4 separate regions of the Homo sapiens genome follow, and regions 2, 3 and 4 are each linked to region 1. Evidence: promoter capture Hi-C in 16 types of primary human blood cells and fetal thymus (Javierre and others, 2016). All regions are on one chromosome and are shown on one strand. The core of a region is centred on a gene start or on the middle of the fragment in contact, and the rest is flanking DNA. Distances in the headings are between cores, read along the strand shown. Region 1 holds the start of NFIB (nuclear factor I B). Region 2 holds the start of LINC01235 (long intergenic non-protein coding RNA 1235). Region 3 overlaps LINC01235 (long intergenic non-protein coding RNA 1235). Region 4 has its middle 220 kb from the start of LINC00583.

What was found. Contacts are between HindIII fragments. The CHiCAGO score rates a contact against its expected background, and 5 or more counts as called.
Region 2: a contact is called between a fragment that was not itself captured here and the fragment with the promoter of NFIB in region 1, in 2 of 17 cell types (M2 macrophages and endothelial precursors). The highest score is 7.7, in M2 macrophages.
Region 3: a fragment that was not itself captured here is called in contact with the fragment with the promoter of NFIB in region 1 in 1 of 17 cell types (M1 macrophages); the score reaches 5.7 in M1 macrophages.
Region 4: a contact is called between a fragment that was not itself captured here and the fragment with the promoter of NFIB in region 1, in 1 of 17 cell types (endothelial precursors). The highest score is 6.7, in endothelial precursors.

What each region holds. Positions count from the first base shown.
Region 1 is chr9:14,312,715-14,315,718 of GRCh38, reverse strand. It overlaps NFIB (nuclear factor I B), which reads left to right and starts at 1,578. Exons shown (of 11, transcript NM_001190737.2): 1 at 1,578-2,237. The coding sequence starts at 2,208. RefSeq lists a silencer at 1,875-2,169. The HindIII fragment of the contact is 4,177 bases long and covers 1-2,648 here.
Region 2 is chr9:13,430,574-13,433,825 of GRCh38, reverse strand. LINC01235 (long intergenic non-protein coding RNA 1235) reads left to right here and starts at 2,497. Exons shown (of 3, transcript NR_033863.1): 1 at 2,497-2,623. The HindIII fragment of the contact is 5,522 bases long and covers 1-3,252 here.
Region 3 is chr9:13,411,614-13,414,562 of GRCh38, reverse strand. All of the region lies in intron 2 of LINC01235 (long intergenic non-protein coding RNA 1235), which reads left to right. Among named protein-coding and RNA genes, the nearest start is that of LINC01235, 18 kb to the left of the region's middle. The HindIII fragment of the contact is 857 bases long and covers 1,204-2,060 here.
Region 4 is chr9:13,705,578-13,708,529 of GRCh38, reverse strand. No RefSeq gene overlaps it. Among named protein-coding and RNA genes, the nearest start is that of LINC00583, 220 kb to the left of the region's middle. The HindIII fragment of the contact is 2,152 bases long and covers 212-2,363 here.

The DNA of each region.
Region 1 (3,004 bases), core at 329-2,828:
GGCGAACCGCCTTCTTCAAAATCCCTGGAATCAAGTTCATTCACTCGGAGCCTGCACGGGCGACGGGGTGGGGGCGGGGCAGCGCCGCGGTGGGGAGCCGGCGCGGGCGCCGAGCGGCTCAGGGCCCGCAGCCTCTGGAGGGCTGCAGCGGCGCGCGCGCGCCCGCCGGCCCGCCCCGCAGCCCCGGGCGCGCCGCGGCCCCGCCCCGCCTGCACCCGGGCGGGTAGGGAGACGCTTTCCGCCGGCGCCCCGGGCCCCGGGGGGTGGGGATTGGGAGCCAGCCAGCGGGGCTGCAGGAGGAGGAGGAGGAGAGCGAAGCCGGGCGCGGGGAGGAGGTGGAGGGAGCAAGAGGCGGCGGCGGCGGCTCGGCCCGGTCCTCCCGCTCAGAGCGAGGCCACGTGCACGGGGCACCCCCGGGGAGGGCGGCAAACCGCGGCGAAGCGCCGCGCGCCGCGACTGCCTCGGGTGCGGGCCCCTGGTGGGCAGACCCGGGACGAACCCGCACCCCCTCCCTATCCGCGAACCCGGGCTCCGGGCGGGGCCGTCGGGGGCTGGGCGCCGCACCCCCCTGGTCCACGCCGGCGCGCCCCAACTACTTGAGCCCAAGTTCGCTCAGGTCCCCGCCTGCTCGGCCTCCCCCTTTTCCCGGCAGCCGCAGGCTCCGCGGACTGAGCCCGCCCCGGGTGCGAGTGTCCGCGCCCCAGCCCCGGCCTGGGGGCGGCCTGGGTGTGAGGGAATTTTCCACTCGTTCCTTTCTCGGGCTCAGACGGTTTCGGTGCTTCTCCCACTCGGATGTTCCCGCGGCTTAAAAGAGTCCGCAGCGAGCACCGAAATACCTCTTCCAGGGCGGGTTTTCGGGGGTGTGTATGTGTGTGCTGGTGTGGGGAGGGCAGCGGAAAGAAGAGCTATTTTGGAAAAAAAAAAAAAGTCATGGTTCTGTAGCACCGGTAGGATACCTTTAACAAATGAGGGAGAGGTGGGGGGAGAGAAGGAGAAGGAGGAGGAGGAGGAAGGTGGGGGGGCGGGGGGTGTGGAGAGGCTGGTGCAAAAGGAATGCGCGTTTGCAGGAGGAGGAGTAAAGCGATGATTGTGTAATTAAATAATAAAACAATCCTTAAGTCTGATTTGGAGAGAGCTCGAGCGGGGTCCAGAGGGTGGAACCGGTGAATTTTTCAACTTCCAAGTTTTGCAACGAAAGAAAGCAAGAGAGGGAGGGAAAAAAAAGAGCCTAGAGCAGAAAAGAGAGGAGTTTGGAGCCGAGCGGGAGAGCGGGATTTATCGTTTGGAATTTTTCAGGAGATCGTTTTGATACCCCTGGGCTCTGGGCAGCGGCGGCAACAGCAGCCTCCACGCTCGGCCGGGTCAGACGCGGGGCGAGGCGGGCGGGCGGGCGGCCGGGCGCCGAAGACCCGGCGCGGGCGGCGGCGGCTGCTGCTGCCGGGGACCACGCGCCGCGAGCCTCTTCCGCCCCAGAGATCAGCGCTCGCGCCCCCTCCCTCACCCCGGCCTCTCCCTTCTCCCCCATCCCACCCCGCCCCCACCCCGGCCCTCTCCCGCGCGCGCCCCGCCACCCGCGCGCACTCGCTCACGCTGCCCCTCGCGCACACACATGGTCGGCTCGCGGCAAAGTTTCGCCTGCGATCACCACTCCGGGATCCTGCCGCAGTGCTTGGGGCTGTAACCTTGAACTTTCCCAGCGCGGTGACACATTCTCCCCGCTCTCCCTCCCGCCCGCCCGCTCGCCCTCCTGCGCCCTCCCGCGCCCCCCTCCCCGCCTTTTTTGAAAAAGCATTTTACCACCAACCACCACCCCAATCCAACCCACACCGAACCTTCGCGCACCCCCTACACCCCAACAACAACAACAACTGCAAAATAGAAAACAAATCCCCAAACCCAGGCGAAAAGCAGCCAACACCGGCGGCGGCGGCGGCCTCGGCAAGCACGGCCAGCGCGCTCGGACTGCAAGAGGGTTAAAAGTGTAGATTGGATTTCACCCCTGGAAATCTAGCACGCCGAGTGAACTTGAATCTTTGGCTATTTAAGGAGGACTGGGTTTGTTGTGAAGTTGCGGTGATCCAGCGCAGAGCCCCGTCCTGATTGATCGCATCGCGGGGCTCAGATGACTGTAAAATGAATAGATGAAATTCTTGCTTCTCGAAGATTTTCTTGGGCATCTCCCGGAAAGTGCGTTTTAAGGCGAAGTCATGATGTATTCTCCCATCTGTCTCACTCAGGTACATGTCTCGGTCGCTTTCTCGAGCTTTCTCTCTGGCCCGAAATGCCTTTGTTTTGTTTTGTTGCGGACAATTAGCGGCTTGAGTTAACCTCCGCACATCCCCGTCCCTTGGAGAAGTGGCCCGGAGTTGCAGCGGGCGTCGCGGGGCGGCGTGGGAGCCGGGAGCGGCCCCTCGCCACGGCCACTGCGAGCGCCCAGCCCCGCGCCCTGGGCACGGAGCGCGGGCGCTGGGCCGGGCAAGGCCGCCGGGGGGTGGGCAGGGCCGGGACCTGTAAGTGCGAGGCCCCGTGCGGCCCCTCAAGTGCCCGTTGTGGTGCGGCATCCCCGCCCGGGGTGCCCGTAGCCCCTCTCAGCAGCTCGCGCGTTGAGGTGGACTCGGGCTTTGGAGGACTTTACGGGGGACTAAGCTTTTAAAAACAGCCAGTGAACTTGGGCGAGGGGACTGTAGCACGAGTCTGTGTGGGCGCCGCTGGACTGCGCTGCAGGCGGTGGGCGGGCGACGAATCGAGTCGGAGGTTGTGGTCCGGGGACCCATTCCTTTGCTTTATTTGGGGATCTGAAACCCTGGTCCATAGTGACCTGCTGCACTTTGGGGTTTCTAGTGACCGCACCACAAAGGCAGTATTTACGTTGACACGAGTTAGTTGGTCTTGGTGATTGTTAAGGAGTTTTTAGAACGTGTTCCTTTTGTGGAAACCTGTTCATTTGACGATATTTGGGCGTAGCTCGTAAGGCATTTTAAGTAATGCTGGTAGAAGTAAGGTC
Region 2 (3,252 bases), core at 393-2,892, 880 kb after region 1:
TGTGATCCAAAGATCCTGGGTTTTCTTAACCGTACATAGACTATCAATTTTATAAATTGTTGATTAATTTCCTGCTGATTCTTCTCTTTGATTGCTATTATAGCATATATCCTTAAATACCTTTTACTTAAATGTCCTTGTAGTTCTCACATATTTATTTTATTTATTTATTTATTTATTTATTTATTTATTTATTTATTTTGAGATGGAGTCTCACTCTGTCTCCCAGGCTGGAGTGCAGTGCCATGATCTTGGCTCACTGTAACTTCTGCCTCCTGGGTTCAAGCAATTCTCATGCCTCAGCCTCCCAAGTAGCTGGGATTACAGGCGCCCGCCATCGCACCCAGCTGATTTTTGTATTTTTAGTAGAGACGGGGTTTCACCACATTGCCCAGGCTGGTCTCAAACTCCTGACCCAAGTGATCCACCCACCTCAGCCTCCCAAAGTGCTGAGATTGCAGGCGTGAGTCACCGTGCCCAGCCCTAGTTCTCAGATATATAAACGGAATAATATACATAATTAGAAACATTAATTTGCCTGTTATTCCCATAAAGGATTTTTTTCTATATACTAAAAACAAAATTTTGGAGGACCAAGTGATAATATTCCAGAAAATCATAGCAATATGGGCTCTTTCAATGACCAACTGAAGCTGAAAAAGCATCCTGGCTGAGGGGAGGAAATATTATTAGCCACTTCCGCTGTCTCACACTAAAACAAAGTACACAAGGAGGAAGTAGAGGTGATGCAAGCAGTGAATGAGAAATCAGGAAAATTTCCATTAAACTCTGCCTAAGTCCTTTAGGGCTCTGTCTCTGTTTTGTTCCTCTTAAGGTTGTCACTTCTATGCCTAATGATTATCTCATTGGTTCCAGGACATTGTTACCATTTACCTCCACTGGATATCTATTTTCTTTCAAAAAGGTAAGAAGCAATTTATGTCCTATTATAATTTTATTTGTAATCTTAATTAATCCTACATGTCCAAGGTAAAGACAGGTAATCATTACGTGTGTGTGTGTGTGTGTGTGTGTGTGTGTGTGTGTGCATATATATATATATATATATATATATATATATATATATATATATCTTGAGTCTACTATCTGGTACACTATTGGGGCTTAAGGAAACAAATAACAACAAAAAATCCAAAAAACACCCATCATACAGCATTTGCTACACTTCTTTTTACTGAAAGTCCTACTACCTACCAATTCACACCCCACCTGCCAACTCCCTCACCTGAAAGCAAGAAGGAATTGTATTTTCACTCCAGCATGTAATTGGCAGATCCATATTTTGTTTTTGCTTGTTTTTTTTCTTTCAGCACAATCAACGTGCCTTTTCCCTGATTTTCTCTGCCAAACATATCAGATTGTGGGAGGTTTATGGATACACAGTACTTCACAGGCAACCTGAAAGGTAGGGAGACTGCGAGGAGATACTGCAAAAAAAAAAGTGTGATGGAGAAAGCATGAGTGACTACTGGAAGACAGACCTGAGATAATTATTGAAGAGATGACAGTGAACATTACCATGATATGTTTCACCAGGTTGTGTTTCAAAGATAATGAAGAACTATTAAATCATTTTATTTTCTTTGAGATATTAAAGAATAAATGAAAGGAATATGCAGATGATAATTATAAATAACAATTATGATAAGTTTGAGTAGCTAGCTACTTTATACAACACTCCAGAAATATTTGTTATGCAAATGCATAAACTCTACCCAGTGGCTTTATAGATCACTGGCATTAGGGCTGGAGCTATTGTGCAGGAATAGGATGGTGGCTTAACTCAGTTGGGGGTCATTTTATTGCCAGTTTAACTGGTGTTAAATTAGTGGGTATTTAACTGTCACTAACACAATTTAGGGCTCAATTCGCCAAAGTATCATTTTTACTAATATTTTAGTGAAAGTGAAGAATCATTCCTCCCGATGCTGTAGTGTCATGCTGAAGGCACCACTGTTCTCTAGTCCACAGTAATGAAACTTGCATTAACAAAAGTGGGCTGGATGCCTACTAAGGAGAAAAATAAACTCCTTGAGAACCTGGTATCTTGCTGTAGTTTATTGCAGTGAAACCATTTTAACATCCCTTTTCACTGAATGAGATTTTTAAAATCCGTAAATCATGAGCCAAAATAGTATAATCCATGCAATATTTCATGGAAGACCTTTGCTGTAAGATTATTGTGTTGAACTCCCAAATTTTTATTTTAGGGAAAAAACACACACGCACACACACGCACGCACACACACACACACACACATTTCCCCACCAACACAAGAAACATGATCAACTCCAAATTCAAAAAGATTTACAAATGCCACAACACAGTTATCTACCAGCAAACATATCATTTCTTTGTTTCATAGGACACCAAGGATGAATAATTCATGAACCCCATTTCACATGCTTATTGTGTCTGGTGGCAAAGACCCCGCCCGCTCAGCCCCAGGAAAGCTCAGGCACTTTGCTGCAGGCACAGTGCTCTGTGCCATCCAGGGACCAGCCGTGTGCTCTCGAGTTACTGGAGCAGCGCAAGCAGCTCCAGTGGTCTCAGCTGTGGAGACAGCTGTTTGCCCACCGTCTGCGATGGCAGAAATGTGTGGTAGGCTTCCCCCTAACAGCATGGCCCCCGCTACACACCACACACACACACAAACAACTCCCAGGCCGTGCATCATACACACACCACCACCCAAGGGGTGAAAGAAGCCCCATCATGTGGGGACCAGAATGAGCAATGCACCACAGTTTAAAAACAACTCTTTATCTTGTATGATAACTACTGGAACAGAGGTGGTAGCCTCCGAACCTAAACCTTGTCATTTATGTATCAAAAGATTTGTGCATGCGTGAAATTCAAAATGATTTATTGTTTAGTTATTGCCTTATTTACTTACTTAATGGATTGATTGATGTGCTAGGATCCCACAGACAACGGAGGCTTTTTTTTTTTTTTTTTTAAGATTGTTTTAAAGGAACTAGATTGCAAGCAAAGTTTCAGTAGCACAGTAAGTCAGCTCCTCCTTACTGGTTTGTATTCATAATGAGTTCCTTTTGGCTCTTGCCTGCTACCTGTCTCTGGCTATTCATTGACACAAAATACTGCACCTTGCACACTGTGAGAAGTGGCAGGGATGAAAGAATATTAAGCACGAAGGAGTAAAATATGCAGAAAAATCTGGATCCTGCAGCACGTTTTAGCCAATAGAAGCATCTATAGTAGTAACTCTT
Region 3 (2,949 bases), core at 383-2,882, 900 kb after region 1:
ATATTCACTGCCAATTTTTAGGAGTAAATATATGATGTAATTTTTCTCCTAACAAGCTGCTGTGACTGTTGGCAGTAGAAAAAAATAGGAGTTGGACACAAAGGAAATAAATGGAAGAACAGTTGAAGAGGCCCAATGACTCCTATTGGGTAAAAATGAAAGGAAGAGTGTTTGATCACAAACCATATCTCTGAGGTTGCTTTCTCCAAATACTGTGAATGCAAAATAATTTCATTCAAAAGCAAATATGAGTTTGAGGATATTTTATTTTACCTGAGGAAATCAAAAGGAATAAAGAAAGAAAAACTAATGATCGTCAGTACCTATATTACACAAGGGCACAAAGTACTTGGCCAGAAGGCATCAGGTCGGAGAACAGTTCTTTACCGACTGCCTCCATTTTGTCCAAACCAGGATTTCTTCTGATTGATTGGTGCCAGTTTATATGGATTGTTAAATATTTTGAATAGCACCCTTGGCTAGTGCTCTGTAAACACTGACTTAATTCTCACCACAAGCCACTGAGGTTAAGTATTATTATCCCAATGTACAGATAAAGGGATTGTGAAATGAGGAGGAACATTCATGTCCACAGTGGTTTGAGACTCTTCCTCAGGGGTCAACTCTTATTCCTAAACAAGTACAGAGCTGTACCTTTCGCATCTCTGTATCTAGTGTCTAGGAGAGTCCTGCCATGTACTTGGTGCTCAAAAATGGTTTACTCAATTGAATTTAACAGACAACTGTTCATTTTACTGGGATGAAGAATATCTCCCCTACACGTACAAGTTTCACATATAGGTGAAACTTGGTTCACATGTGGGGCCCAGCTCAGGATTTTGCAGTCCCACCTTCTCTTTCAGACTATAATTATAGGAATTTAAGAGTTCTACCAGTTTACCCCAGCAATAAATACATTGCAGAAAATGTATTACATTAATCGTTCTCCCTCATTATAATGCATTTCTTCTCAAGAAAGAGGCAAAAAATGCTAGAACTCTACCCTAAGTGAATGTGATACAGAGGAATATTTAATACCAGTGTATTTATAGCAGTGTTATTTGTATTAGACACTGAAAACAAACTAAATGTCTAAGGATGGGAGAATGGCCTAATTAATCATAGTTAAGATGCATGATGGAATGTTACGTAGTCATGGTGAATCACATTTTAATTAATTTGAGATTTTGTATTTAATAAGCTTTTTATTGAAGTGTAATATACAGAACAAAAAGTGCACAAACTATAAGTATAAATAATTCTCATTAATTTAAAAAGAATTAATAATGAGGCAACTACTTAATGGTGCCTCTCAAAAACTAACTTCTTTTCTCCTCAAAGAGATTCATTATTTTAACATCAAATAGGATATAGGGAAATAGCTATTATCACATAAGTGAAAAAGGATGAAGCAAATTGTACAGTGTTCTCTAATTATGTGATTATTTATATGTAATTAAATGTGCAGAAAAATGCTAGAAGGAAATAACTAAAATGTTATCAGTGGTTGTATCTTAGCAATCAGAATAGGGGTACTTTTATTTTTTTCTTATCGTAAATATACATGGCACTAATAAATACTTTTCAGGATAAATGTTATTTAAAGGAAACAAAATATGTTAAAATCCATTGTAAACATGTTTTTTTCATATTTGTCAGAAGCTGGCACTATTTTTCTAGTCCTAAAATGTAGAAGAGCTCAAAAAGTTGCCTAGAAAATTAGGCTATTACATACGATTATATTTAAAGCAATATATCTCCTATTAGAACATGGATAAAATTATGATATGCTTTTGATTATACCATGGACATTAATTACTGAGAACCATAAGTTCCTACCATGAAACTACACATGGTATGGTTAATTCTCCTAGCCAGTGTGATTTTTGCATTGCTGCCAGCACAAACCTTATAAGGTTCTCATTGTGCCAGTTTTGTCACATTCCAGAGAATTTTCTTCCCATCCTTATGGCTTTGCTTGGAAAAGAATGACTAGAAAATGATGCTGGAGATCATAAGGTCAGTCTAGCCGAAATTGTACTGACAAAGCAGCAGAAGCTTCTGGAAACAGATCTAGAGTTCTGGAAATCGGCCAAGGTCCAGGGGTGTGTAGATGACATGTTCTGCATTTTGCTTAAAATTAACTAGAAAAAAAATTGTATCTGTTTGCCTTTGTTTTTACAGAAGTCAGATAATATATTGATGTGAGAGTAGAGCTGTGGAGAAAGATATAGCTCCTAAAAATGCTTTAAATATATAATCAAGATTAGTTGGATTCTTTCCTTCTTGTCCTTCCTCCTAATATTTCTTTCTTCAATTGCATGTTTATTTTGAAAACAGATTAGAATTTACTATTCAGAGGGATGTATGAGATCTACAGGGAATGAAGCAAGAACTAAATAGAAAACAAATGGAAAGGAATTCAACAAAATAATTCACAATATGATTTATCTAGGAAGAGGGAATCAGAAAAACTTTCCTAATCAGAAAAGCTTCCCTCTTGGGAAGTCCATTTTCCCAGAAGGAGCTGGAGAAAGGAACAAATGCTTCATCACTGATGGTAAAAGCCTGTCCTCTATGCACACAGAGGGCCCTGGTTCTGCTCTGCACTGTGGAGAATTTCCCAGACTGAGTTGCCCAGGTTGTGGAGAGATTGAAAACACTGAGTTGGGAGAAAAGGAGTGGAAATGGTTAGGAGTAACTATGGCTCAAACTTCATAAATAGTAATTATGTTTACAAATTTTAAGCTTCAAACTGCTCTCCTTATGGTTCAGAAAGATACAATTTTTCCTGGAAAGAAAAGCCCAGAAAAGCGAATGTCTTAAAAAAAAAACAATCACTGCTTTAATAGTCAGACTGTAGAGTTTAGTGGCCAGCAGTGACCCAAAGTGGTATTTTTCAAGCCTTGACATTTATTTAATGCCTTTAATGTGGTTATATAAAAGTGT
Region 4 (2,952 bases), core at 38-2,537, 610 kb after region 1:
TAAATATTTGCAGATATGTGTGTATTAAGTTTTCCAAAGAGATTATTCCTTTTTGAATGTTGGCTGCTTTGATCATTTTCCCCTAACATTTAAATAATGCAGTGACACAAAATTTCTTTCCAGAATCATATTGATGTTCAATTTTCTTCTACTTCAACCCATAAAAAGCATTCCAAATTCTTTTATGATTTATTTCCTTTTTTGAAAAGCTTCAACAGCATTTGCTATTTCCAAAGAATGCATTATCTCCAACCCGTTCCTTCATATTCTGGAACTAACATTTATACACTCATCTGCCCTCCTTCGACCCCATTTCCTTACTCTGTAAATTCTCATCCTTATATTTACTTAAAAAGTGAATGTTCTTCCCAGTGCTCTAACTTGCAGGTCAGCAACTGGGGTAAGTAAACTTAGGACCAGACCTCCCATCACAATCATATTCAAGACCCATGATCATCTTCAGGATCATCTTTTGTCTTACTGCATCCCATTCTGCTTAATTTTTTTAATGTAAGACATACCTGCATTGTTACAAAACAGTGGGGAAGCCAGGTAAAGTAACCTCATAAGAGTTATTCTCTTCTCCTGTGCTTGCTGTCTGGGTAAGAGCAGGGCATTTTTGCCCTGGATGTGAGTCAGCAGTATTACCATATAAGCAGAGTCGTGCAAAGGGTGCTTTCAGTTCCCTTTCCATGTGGGCTCAGGAACTTATGTTTCTTGGCATATAATGGAGGAATAGTCTGATTCATTATTTCCCCAAAGATAAAGCCATTGTTGAGAACCTTGGGATGGGCCAACTTGCCTTCTGCTGTATACAGGGAAGTTTACCCCCCAGGTTATTTACAATGAGTTATAAAATCAAATATTCAGAATCTTCTTCCTAGTAAATCATCACACATATATTTGCACGCTATTCTACATACACTTGTATAATAAACTAGGTAGTTTTACAAAATCATCCAAGATTCCTAACTTAAGGGAGGTAAAACAATTAATGAGACAATTGTGTTCAATTTTACTACGTGGTTGGAGCCAAAGAAATACATGGCACAACCAAGAGACCTGTCCAACAGTGGGCCAGTTCTTCTAGGCTGGTTTTGCTTACTCCTTCTATGGGCATTTGTTATAGACTTGGAGTAAAAAGTTCTTAAGATGAATAACAGTAGCAGTAGTTACGTCTGTTTCAATATCTACATGTATGTGTTATTTACGCAGGCACTCTTTCTCAGCTCTAATTTCATTACCTGTAACTTAATTGCATTTATTTCTAATATTTTTTTCTATAATACAGAATTCAAATCCTAGCTTTACTACTTCTTAGATATGTGACATTGGCAAATAATTTAGATTTCCAAGCCTCAGTTTCCTTATCTATAAGTTGGAGATAATGCCTCATGGAGTTCTTATGAGGATTAAAATACGAAAGAAAGTGTCTGACAGGGAGTAGGTGCTCAAAAATTGCTGATTTTCTTCTTTTTCTACCTCTTACTGCACCCCATTCTGCTTAATTTTTTTTTATGTAAGACATACCTCCGTGGTTTCAAAACATCTGGCTGAAGGGTGAAAATGAACACAATCACCCAGGTGTTTGGCCTGCATGATGACAGATATCAAACACTTAGAACCATCTGGGTGATTGGCATATTTTCTTTTTCACTTTTATCCAGATGTATGTGGATATAGCCTTGGCCAAAAGGAAAAAAATCACCAGAGTTTTTCTTAAATCCTAAATTAATACTTTTTCTAAAAAATACTATTATTTGAATATCATTCATTTATTTCTTTTGAAAGTTTTCTTGTTCAAGATGCTTTTGAAATAAGATTGTTGCTTAATTTCATTTCCTGTAACCTAGGAATTTTTAAAAAAGAAGGAAATGACTCCATAGATTTCAAACCCCTGTGTTTCTATTCAAGATAATTAAGGACAAGAAACACTAAGTGGTGATTTCAAGACACAGAGTTAGATAGAAGCAGAGCTGGGACAAAAATTGTTGCTTGACATTAAGCTGAAGACACCTGTTCACTACTGCCTATCTTTTTTGCATCTATGTCACATGCATTTTTACAAATATGCACAAAGAACCACATACAACTAACTTTTATACACATAGGACACAAAGATAATTCTAATTTTCTTCCTGACAGTCATATTACTGTAACACAACTTTTTTTCCAAATATTTTTTGAAACTTGCTAGTAAGCCCAAGAGAATAAACCAGGCTTCACTGTACTCAGTCACACGTGCATCCAGTAACTGCACTCTGACATCTGCCATGCAGGGCATTGCTTAAATAGATGTCGTACTGAGATCTGGTATCCCGTGAGCAGCTGATGCAATTCTCCTCAGTCACAGGGATGAAGCTTGGATAACATTGCTGGCTCTGAGAAATCCCCAAGTCACAAAGAAATGATTCCATTGACCTAGCGGCTTTGCACTCCCAATACAACATGTTCTTCAGCAGCTTCCCAAGGGAGAAAATAACGTGAGAGTTTTTAAGAGTGCTGAAAGCTTCCCCTCTAATCAGCCTGTGTGGATTCTGCTAGCATTCCAAGGCGTCTCAGACAATCCCTGGAAAACTTTGGGGACTCAGTGAGGTTTTCTAAACATTTTTTCTGCCTGAAGATACTAAAGATAAGCAGCTTCACATAATTACATTGTTATTTCAACACGAACACAACTTATCGACTGCCATTTCAGTCTCAAAACAACTGTACATCTCAAAGAAGCCCTCCCTTATAAATTCTCAACCCAACAGGGTATTGCTTTTGTCCAATTATTTTTTAGGGTTGGGGGAAATCAGAAGACTAGCATATCTTAAAGCATTTACTTTAAAAACCTCTGTTCTGCTTAATTCATGTCTAAAAGCTGAAGTGGATGGCTGGCCTCGGGTGAAGGAAGAACATTCCTGATGAATGGACTTGTCAGTCATGTGACCAGCTGCAAAACAGTCT